3 separate regions of the Homo sapiens genome follow, and regions 1 and 3 are each linked to region 2. Evidence: promoter capture Hi-C in 16 types of primary human blood cells and fetal thymus (Javierre and others, 2016). All regions are on one chromosome and are shown on one strand. Each heading gives the region's core, a stretch centred on a gene start or on the middle of the fragment in contact. The rest is flanking DNA. Distances are from core to core; before and after follow the strand shown.

Evidence for each region. The method cuts DNA at HindIII sites, captures the fragments that hold promoters and counts their contacts. A CHiCAGO score of 5 or more calls a contact.
Region 1: a contact is called between a fragment that was not itself captured here and the fragment with the promoter of PIGO in region 2, in 1 of 17 cell types (endothelial precursors). The highest score is 7.6, in endothelial precursors.
Region 3: a contact is called between a fragment that was not itself captured here and the fragment with the promoter of PIGO in region 2, in 1 of 17 cell types (endothelial precursors). The highest score is 5.7, in endothelial precursors.

Annotation. Positions count from the first base shown.
Region 1 is chr9:35,445,425-35,449,134 of GRCh38, forward strand. It overlaps the pseudogene ATP8B5P. Among named protein-coding and RNA genes, the nearest start is that of RUSC2, 43 kb to the right of the region's middle. The HindIII fragment of the contact is 2,785 bases long and covers 1-2,731 here.
Region 2 is chr9:35,095,341-35,098,631 of GRCh38, forward strand. PIGO (phosphatidylinositol glycan anchor biosynthesis class O) reads right to left here and starts at 1,251. Exons shown (of 11, transcript NM_032634.4): 1 at 815-1,251; 2 at 1-226. The coding sequence starts at 225. It overlaps PIGO-AS1 (PIGO antisense RNA 1), which reads left to right and starts at 964. Exons shown (of 2, transcript NR_186491.1): 1 at 964-1,080; 2 at 2,420-2,804. RefSeq lists an enhancer at 918-1,257. The HindIII fragment of the contact is 7,045 bases long and covers 1-3,291 here.
Region 3 is chr9:35,386,618-35,390,026 of GRCh38, forward strand. UNC13B (unc-13 homolog B) reads left to right here. Exons shown (of 40, transcript NM_001371189.2): 25 at 3,229-3,356. Among named protein-coding and RNA genes, the nearest start is that of RUSC2, 100 kb to the right of the region's middle. The HindIII fragment of the contact is 1,702 bases long and covers 721-2,422 here.

The DNA of each region.
Region 1 (3,710 bases), core at 89-2,588, 350 kb after region 2:
ATGCACACAATTTTTTGAAACATGGATTCCATTTTTCTTTTTGTCTATGCATTCCAGCAAGCAGTTACTTAAGAGCCTGTCATGGGCCCCATAAATATTTATGAGGTGTGGAGTATGTTTCCTCGGAGGTATGTGCAAGTTTTTACCAGGATCTGCTCCTTATTCTTTTTTTAAAAAATTAAATTTAATTAAAAAAAATAGAGACAGGGTCTCGCTGTGTTGTCCAGGCTGGCCTTGAACTCCTGAGCTCAAGTGATCCTCCCGCCTTGGCCTTCCAAACTGCTAGGATCACAGGCGTGAGCAACCATGTCTGGCCATACTCCTTATTCTTTTTTTTTTTTTTTTTTTTTTTTTTTTTTGAGATGGAGTCTAGCTCTGTTCCCCAGGCTGGAGTACAGTGGTGCAGTCTCGGCTCACTGCAAGCTCCGCCTCCCAGGTTCATGCCATTCTCCTGCCTCAGCCTCCCTAGTAGCTGAGACTACAGGCGCCCACCACCACGCCCAGCTAATTTTTTGTATTTTTAGTAGAGACAGGGTTTCACTGTGTTAGCCAGGATGGTCTCGATCTCCTGACCTCGTGATCCGCCCACCTCGGCCTCCCAAAGTGCTGGGATTACAGGCATACTCCTTATTCTTGAAGGGAGCAGGTACTATCTCCAGGTTGTTTATGATGTTTCTTCAGCCTCTCTAGAGCACCTGACCAGCTAGATCTCATGAGTTGATTAAGTAGTGGCAGTGTGTTGCAGAGAGTGAGAGGAAAGAGACGGGAGTGAGTGAGCTAACACTCAGCTTCCTTGAAGAGCCATCTCACCTCAATACTGAGAGAGAAGCAGTGGGAGTGACTTTTACAGCTCAGACTCATAGCCCAGTCTCTACTGGTAACATCTATTTTCTAAAACCCCATGAAAAAGTAGGAGATACTGCACCCGTACAACAGTTCTGTTTGTGTCCTGTACAGTGGTCACTTGTCTTTTACTCTAGTGAAACCAACCTGAAAGTGAAGCAGGCCATCTCAGTTACCAGTGACATGGAAGATCGCCTGGAGCTTCTGTCTACCTTTAATGGTGAGTTAGGAAATGGGTTTTCCTACCTAAATTTTCATCAGTAGAGTACTGGTTAAATAAAGTATGGTACATCCATAGTGATTTCTATACAACTTATTACAACAATATGCAAGTTGATATTTATTGAAATATAAAAAATACAACATGTAATTAAAAGAAAAATACAATTTACAAAAGACTGCATAGTGTATATAACATAAACCTGTTTTTGGAAATATAGGTATGTTTATGAGTACTTACATAGAAAAAACATAGAAGGATGTACTTCAAAAGGTAAATAGCACTTTTCTCAAGACAGTGAATGAATTTTACTTCCTTCTTTACCATTTTAGTATTACTTAAACATTTACAAAGGGCATATTTACTTTACTAATCAGGAAAATGTCAAGTTGTTTCCATTTTGAAAAAAAATACTAGGTTCGCTTTGAGTCGTTTTTGAGTTTCTTCAGATTCAGAGCTCTTATGATCTGGCAGTACTGATGTCACCATCATGTGGGGTTTTCTCTCTCTCTGGATGATCCATGTCACATACAGAATTATTCTTCTTTAGTTCCCAGAAACCTTTGTCTGCCTTTCTTGAAGGAGCTGGTGAGAAATGGGCAGTAACTGAGAGAGGATAGGAAAAAGATGTGTATGTATTTTGAAAGAAGAATTTTATTTCCTCCTTTCTATTAAGTCTCCTTTCATCCTTAGGAAAAGCCTAAGATTAGAGATCCAGAACTCTTACACCTTCATTTTTCTGCAGGAGAAGTGAGATGTGAGGCTCCCAATAACAAATTGGACAAATTCTCAGGAATACTGACCTATAAGGGGAAAAACTACTTCCTGGACCATGACAAGCTGCTACTCTGAGGCTGCAACATCAGGAATACAGATTGGTGCTATGGCTTGGTGATCTACACTGGTACGTTTCCCTTGGCCCCCAGCCTGCTAAATTCCATTCATGGCTGAGCTATGGGTACTTAGTTTTCAGGATGTGGATATGACACTCAGATATATTTCAGAACACTATGGTTTTGAGATAGATAGGCAGGTAGAAGGATGGATGGATGGATGGATGGGAGATTTGTGGGAAAAAACCTTGTTTCTTAGGGAAAAAAAGTGCCTTCTGTTTCCAAGCAATGAACTTCCAACATATCGGTTCTACCTTTGTTAGAGGAAGGCATTGTGTTCCAAAACCACAGGGCATCCATGAGTCTCTTTAACAAGATCTGGACACAGGAGAGGGTATACATACAGAGGAAGTATGATAGAATTACCATGTGAAGGGGGAGAGTATACATATGAACTATTCCCATGAAGAGAGGATGGACACAATGCTTATTATAGAGAAAAATATAATGTAAAAAGTTCATGCCACAGAAAAGTCACATATGGATCATTAATAGTGGCCCCTCTTGAGATGTTATTTAGAACCACAATTCATTATATTTAGTAAGAGATTTTCTTGGGTTATGATGTGGTTCAGGAAAATGGAGGAAGCCTCTGTGCTGCCCCATTCTCTCAGTGACAACAACCATAGTAGGAAATATCAAGAAAGATTTACCACAGTGAATATTATTCAACTCAGATTCCCAGAGCTCCCCTTCTAGAGCATCTACTCCTAGACATGAGGCTTTTAGACTCCTTGCTTCTGTGAAAAGTAATGAGACCAAATCCCTAGGGAGAAGCTTAAGCGTCTAGGGAGGCCCTGGTGGAACTTCCTTCATTGGTTCTTGATCTAGAGTGGCAATGACTAGGCTACCTAATTCCCAAACTCAAAAGACTTAAATTAGACTTACTTTCTTCACTGTATGTACTTCAGCAGCTACTCACACACAATTGCCACTCATAAAAGCTCATTTTTCAGCGAAAGGTTTTTTTCCTGAAAGCAATAACAGTGGGGCTGCCAACCAGCACAAATGTAGTTAAGTTTTCCCAAGGTTGGTTACATGGTAGTGAGTATCTTTGGGAAGCTCTGAGCAGAGAACTAATGCCACCTAAAAGCATTTTGAGGTGTTTGCATGGAATTGAGTTGCTGTTCCTGCTACATGATGTCCAAGTTCTGTGATGATTTCTACCTTCTTCCTGAAGCCTGGGGTAAGGTCAGTCTAAGGACCCTTAGAAGATATGGTCCCTGTAGCTTCCAGGCTATGAGCCAAACTTCTCATATCTTGAAGCCCTTCAAGGAATGCTTAAGAGGAAAGAATGTCATAGCTTATGCTCTGCACTCCCACTGTTTGCCCACATATCAGAGATGTCCCAGCTCCCCATGTGTAAACATTGATGAAATTCCTTTTTCTGTCCTTTATCAGAACACATGTTAGAATAATGGTCAGATGGTGAAAGGCCAGAGAAATTATTGCTTACAGTTTCTTCTAAACCTCTTACATTTTCTCTGGAGCCATAGCTCGAATTAGTAATTTCCAGCTCTAGTCCCATTGGCCATTAAAAGCTCCTTACTTCTGCCTACCATCTGTCCTGTCATGAAGAAACATGGAATCTCTGTCTCTCAGCTCCAGAGGAGTCTCAGCTCCCCTGCTTCCACCTCAGAAGAAATCACTGCCATTGCCTTTTCGTTTCTTCCATTCCGAGTTAGAAACTTTCAGTATAGCCTGAGCCAGCAGTGAGCTTTCTCAAAAGATGATGGGGATCTCTTTATCAGAAA
Region 2 (3,291 bases), core at 1-2,500:
TATCAGCACCAACACAACCCGCGAAAATCGGGAAGCCATCCAGCAGGCCCCAGGTTTCCCTTGGCTCCCCCATGGCAGGGACCCAGGGCCTGGGGGCTCTTGGCAGCTGCTATGGTTGGTGAGCTCCAAACGGGTGAGCAGGAAGCCACTGGTGAAGAGGGCAATGCCAGCGTAGAAGAGGAAGCAGACCCAGGCCAGGAAGAGCAACACTGAGGCTTTCTGCATCCTGATAGGGGTGGGGAAGTAAATTCATTACTGTGGGGCAAAGAACCAGTGGATATTCTGGTCCCTGAATACAAGCCCAGCTAGAATCACTTCCTCCCGGAAACCTTCCTGGAGATAAACCATTTCACAGCCAACCCCTCGCAATATTACTCTCCTCCTATTTCCAGGCTGGGCATGGTGGCTCACGCCTGTAATCCCAGCACTTTGGGAGGCCGAGGCGGGCGGATCACCTGAGGTGAGGAGTTCGAGACCAGCCTGGCCAAAATGGCGAAACCCCGTCCCTACTAAAAATACAAAAATGGGTGGCGGGCACCTGTAGTCTCAGCTACTGGGGAGGCTGACGCAGGAGAATCGCTTGAATCGGGGAGGCGGAGGTTGCAGTGAGCCGAGATTGAACCACTGCACTAGAGTCTGGACAACAGAGGGAGACGCCGTTTCATGAGGTCCCACCCCAGATCTACTGAATCAGGATCTTCGAGGGGTAGAGCATAGGAACGTTCACATGTACAGGCAGGAAATGCTAATGCTGCCTGTACATGTGAACAGTCAGGAGGGAAACTTATTCCAATTGGTAGTCAGGCTCTCTTACACGCCGTTTCTGCGCCTCTCCCCTCGCCAATCTCAATACCCAGTGGAAAGGGATCGAAGCCGCAGGGGAATCCGGGCCCAGCCGACGGCGCCGCCTGGCGGGCACCGAGGGGACGAAGGGGAGGAGTCACTCTCCGCTTCCGGGCGGCCAGGTTCGCCAGGAGACCTGAGGCACGACCTTCGCCACGCAAGGAGGCTGGGGCCCGGGTCGAGAGTCGACTGGGCCTCCGCTGGGACCCAGGCGTGCGACCGGCTCTGCCTCCTCCGGTAACTACCCAGCCTCCCGCTGGGCACCCTAGCCGCGGTACTGAGCACCTTGGTTAGGAGCTGAGGGGAAGAGGGAGACTCCCTTACTTCAGGGTGAGGGGAATACCGGGGGGTGAGGTTCTCGGGAGACCCTGGCTCACCTGCAATGGCACCCGGAAGTGCGGCGGCGGCGGCGCCTGCGACCTGGCAGCACAGAGATGCGTGCGCCAGACAGAGTGGCCCGTCGGTGGCTCCATCGCCATCTGCCGGCACCTCGGTGGAAGTTTGGCCAGGAGCGTGGGGCTGGCCCCAGTTTGATGGGATATTTAGTAATTGAAAATTGGGGACAGGGGACCAAGCTGGAGGAAGAGTTCAGGGAACCACTGTCCATTCATGGTTACGACTAAGAGCACGGCTGCTGGAGTCAAACTTGACTTGAATCCTAGCTTGGCCGCACATATTGTCATCATTAGGCATTACCTCATCTGTAAAATGGAGATAATACTTATTTTCCCTTTTTTGCTTAGCTGAGTCCAACTGAGATTTCATTACTCCTCCTTTCAAAGCCTGTAACTAAATCTTACGACTGAATAATTAAGCAAATAATCCTTCGGAGTGGAGGAGGGGAGGCTGGGCCCAGTGGTTCACACCTGTAATCCCAGCACTTTGGGAGGTCAAGGCAGGTGGATCACCTAAGGTCAGGAGTTCAAGACCAGCCCGGCCAATATGACGAAACGCCGTCTCTACTGAAAATACAAAAGTTACCCGGGAGTGGTGGCGGGCGCCTGTGATCCCAGATACCTGGGAGGCTGAGGCAGGAGAATCACTCGAACCCAGGAGGCAGAGGTTGCAGTGAGCCGAGATTGCACCACTGCACTCCAGCCTGGGCAACAGAGCAAGACTCCCTCTCAAAAAAAAAAAAAAAAATGCCAGGCACGATGACTCACACCTGTAAGCCCAGCACTTTGGGAGGCTGAGGCTGGAGAATCAGTTGAAGTCAGGAATTGGAGACCAGCCTGGCCAACATGCTGAAACCCCAACTCTACTAAAAATTACAAAATTTAGCCAGGCGTGGCGATGTGTACCTGTAGTCCCAGCTACTGAGGAGGCTGAGACTGGACAATTGCTTGAAGCCAGGAGGCAGAGGCTACAGTGAGCTGAGATCGTGCTACTGCACTCCAGCCTAGGCAACAGAGCAAGACTCTGTCTCAAAAAGAAACAAAACCCGTCCACTGGTTTCTCATCTCAGAGTAAAAGTTCTTGCATTGGCTCTACATGGCCCTGCACACTATCTGCCTCTTCCCCTTCTGATTCATCTAGCTGCCACTTCTTTGCTTCCCTAACTCTGTTCCATCCACAGCAGTTCTGCCTCAGGACCTTTGCATTTGCCATCTCCTCTGTCAGCTTCAGTTCCCGATGCCGAAATGGATCTCCATCACCTTCATATTGAAGCTCAACTGTAACATCAGCAAGGCTTCCTGCAATCCCCTACTTTACTAGTTCAGCACCTCCCACCACCACACCCCCTGGAAAAATTTCCCCTCACTTCCTTAATTTCTTCCATAGCACAACTCATCAGCATCTGAAATTCTACACGTATTTATGGTTTATCCCCTCCGAGTAGAATGTGAGCTCATTGAGGTCAGGGAATTCTGTTTTCTTCATGATATCCTCAGCACCTAGCATATATTTGAGGTTCACATACTGACCAAACGAATAAAGGAATATGTTAATTTTTAAAAAAAGTTGAGTTATTCTTCCACCTTCATCCCCATAGCCCCTTATCTCAGTTCAGACCTCATCCCTTCTCCAGGATCACTGAGGCAGCCTTCTCACTGTCCTCCCAGCCTCCTGTGTCTCCCTACTATCCCTTCTCCACATTGCAGCAAGACAGCTCTAACTAAAACATTAATGTGATTACTGTTATTTTTTTCTTTTTTGTAGAGATAGGGTCTTACCATGTTGCCCAGGCTGGTCAACTCCTGGGCTCAAGTGATCCTCCCACCTCAGCCTCCCAAAGTGCTGGGATCACAGGTATGAGTCACTGTGCCTGGCCAATGTGATGTTTTATCTTAAAATTCTTCATGGGAAGGGAAAAAAACCCTTCATAGGCCGGGCACAGTGGCTCACGCCTGTAATCCCAGCACTTTGGGAGGCTCAGGCGGGCAGATCACGAGGTCTGGAGTTCGAGATCAGCCTGACCAACATGGTGAAACCCTGTCTCTACAAAAA
Region 3 (3,409 bases), core at 322-2,821, 290 kb after region 2:
ACTTTATTCTGACTCTTGCAGACTCTTGTAAGTTCTGGGCTTCCTTCCTCTGAGATCTGAAGTGGTCTCTGAGCTGCTGGCTCCTGGAAGCTTTACTTTTCCCTCTAATTACTTCTCTCTGAAATGTGTGGTTCTTCTGGGTTGTATTCATCCACTGGCTATCAAGACTGACCCTATCCTTCTGTGAGGCTGAGCTACTTCACCTGTTTTAGCCTGGCACCCTAAGTCAGTACCTGGTGACTTAGTACATTTTCCCAGATCCTTCTAATAGTGTCCCCGATCCATGCTCCCAACTTATTTGAAAGCCAGAACTTACTTCTAGCTCCAATTACTCAATTACAGTTCCAATCTTAGGAGTTTCTTGCTGACCATACATTTGCAGAGTGGATTCCCTTCAGTCCAACAAATATTGAATGTTTGTTCTAGGCCAGGTCTGAGGAGAGCACAGTGCTCCTTCAGTAAGTTTGCAGTCTCATAAACATATATATAACTCTAATCAAAAGAGTCTGTTTGAAGGGCCTTGAAAAAGGGATAAGATTAAAGGAATTCCAAGGAGGAAGAGTCTTTTCGCACTCTTGATCAGATACCAGGAAAAGCTACATAAAACAAGGAACATTTGAGATAGACCTTAAAAGGCAGTGGGATTTGGACAACCAATGATGGCAGGACAACCTAAATGTCTTGGACATTTATCTTTAAGTAACTACATCCAATTTGTAAAGCTTCCTAGGAACACCCTCATAAAGACTAAGATCTTGTTCCTACTGCCTCTTCTCATTCCCAAGTGTACTTTCTGTGCCAGCCATGTATTTAAGGCTTCTTCCTTTTAAGGTTTCTAAAGCCTCCTGTTGATTCTGAAATCCATGGGAGGTTTTCCTGAGGCCTTTGTTTTACTTGATACATTCTAGGCTCCTCTGTCATCTGTCTATGAAGTCTCTGGTTGAGGAAAGACACTGTTCTCATAAACTATTCAGGGATACTCTTTAGCCTTTGTATTTTAGTATCTGCTTTTTACTTTCTCTCAATTTCATTTTTTCCTTATTCCATATTTACACTGGCATAAACTCTTGATGTCTTTTAAAATTTCCATCTGTTGACCTTCAGTCATTGGTTTATTCGTCCATTCATTTACTTAACAGAGCATTAGAGACATAAAGTTGAGTAAGAGACATTTCAGCCTTTGGGGATCTCATGGTTTAGTGGAGGTCAGGGCAAATTACTACATTTATTGTTTTTTTGTTGTTGTTATTTTGTTGTTACTATGTTTTATTGTAGTTGTAGTTTTCTGATACATCTACACCAAAGGTTCACAGAGGGTGCTGTGGGAGCCCAGACCAAGGATGTCAGGAAAATCTCTCAGAAGAGGCAAAGTTCAATCTGAATTTTGAGGAAGGAGTAGGAATTAACTAAAGAAAGGGGCTGGAGGGAAGGGGCATACCACAGAGAGAATAGAATGCTTGGAGGCACAGAATTATGTATGAGCTTGTTAATTTAAAGAAATATAAGCAGGCCGGGCGCAATGGCTCAAGCCTGTAATCCTAACACTTTGGGAAGCCGGGGCGGGTGGATCACTTGAGGTCAGGAGTTTGAAACTAGCCTGGCCAATATGGTGAAACCCTGTCTCTACTAAAAATACAAAAATTAGGCAGGCATGATGGTGGGTGCTTGGAATCCCAGCTACTTGGGAAGTTGAGGCAGGAGAATTGCTTGAACCCAGGAGGCAGAGGTTGCAGTGAGCTGAGATCGTGCTGCTGCACTCCAGCCTGGGCGACAGAGTGAGACTCCGTCTCAAAAAAAAAGACAAAATAAAAATAAGATAAAGAAGTATAGCAATTTAGGGTACTTACGGCATCCAGCTGTGGGATTCAGCTATCTGGGATCAAATCTTAGTTCTGCTCTTTAAAACTGCATGACTTTGGACAAGTCATGTAACCTTGCTGCCCTTCACTCTCCTCATCTGTAAATGAAGGTGATAATAATTTCTACTAAATGGAGTTGTTGTGAGGATTAGATAGGATAATGTGTGTAAAGGTCTTAGCAGAGTGTGCGGCACATAATAAGCAGTAAATAAGTGGTGGTGGTGTGGTAATAGCTGGAACAAAAAGAGTTGTAAGGTATGAGGTTGAGAGTCATATTCTGGAAGGTGTAAACTAAGGAATTTAAACTGTATTGAACGCCGTTGAAGGGCTTTAAGCAGAGGAGTAACACATTGAGATTTTCTTTGTAGAAAGATCACGATAGCTGCAAGGAGGAGGGATTGGATTGAAGATCAAAGACCAGTTCAGAAATCCTTGAATGATAAGAGCCTGAGCCAGGACAGTGACAGAAAAATAAAAGGAAGAGATGTATTTAAGTTATATTAAAGATTCTGTCCTGGTTTCTAGGAACTTCTTGATAATGCAGGCTTATTAAGGACTGTGGAAGCTTTCCAGTGACATATGACATCCCACATAAAGGCCCTGTTCCTGTCCTTCTGGGCAGCTCCACCTTCACCTTTGACTTAGTGGGAGATAATGTGTGTTCCACCCTCCCTGTGGTGACTCCTACTTCACTTTTCTGGGCTGTGAATATAGAGTGATTTCTCTTTACCTGAAAGTCACCATTGTATTCCCTTGCCTCTTCCCAAGTAAGGCCCTATCTTATCTAGTTAGGCAGATAGCTTCCTAGATGCAGTTCTTCCCCCTAATAACTTCAGGGGATCAAGGGAAGTCCTACTCCACTGAAAGGCTGAAATGCGCACCAGATCTGTTCAGTAGCTCCTGCAGAAGTTGAAAGAGCTTCTCAGAGCTGAGATGTGTATGTGTGTGGTCGTGGTGTGCTGTCAGTAGAGGAATACCACCAGAAGAGGAGGGCTGCCTGCCTGTAGGGGCCGCATAGAAGTAGACCTATTTAGTAAGGCTGGAGGGGCTGTTTCCTTTAGCCAGCGAGTTACTCTGCCCATAGCAACTGAGAGAAGGAAGGAGGATGGGCATCCTTATGTCTCTTGGACTGACCAAGTTTATCAGAGAGAACTTCTCAGCGATAGGCTCCCTGTGTTCAGGGATCTCACAATAGTCACTCTTACAGAACAGGGATAGTCTTGTGGAAGACAGGCTCTAGGAGAGGAAAGGTCCTTGATTCTAGAGGAAGAGGTATAGGAAGGGGAAGAGAAAGAGGATCGTTGGAGACACCCTCTACATTCTACTCTGACTCTTTCTCCCTCTCTCTCACTGTGTCCTCTGGATCAAGAAGCAGGAGCTACCTCCAGAGGAACAAGGGCCCAGCATTCGGAACCTGGATTTCTGGCCCAAGCTCATCACACTCATCGTGTCAATCATAGAGGAAGATAAGAATTCCTACACACCTGTTCTGAACCAGTGAGTATCACCCTCTTTGGCCCTGTCTGTTGGTGGTTGGTCTGTCCATCTGT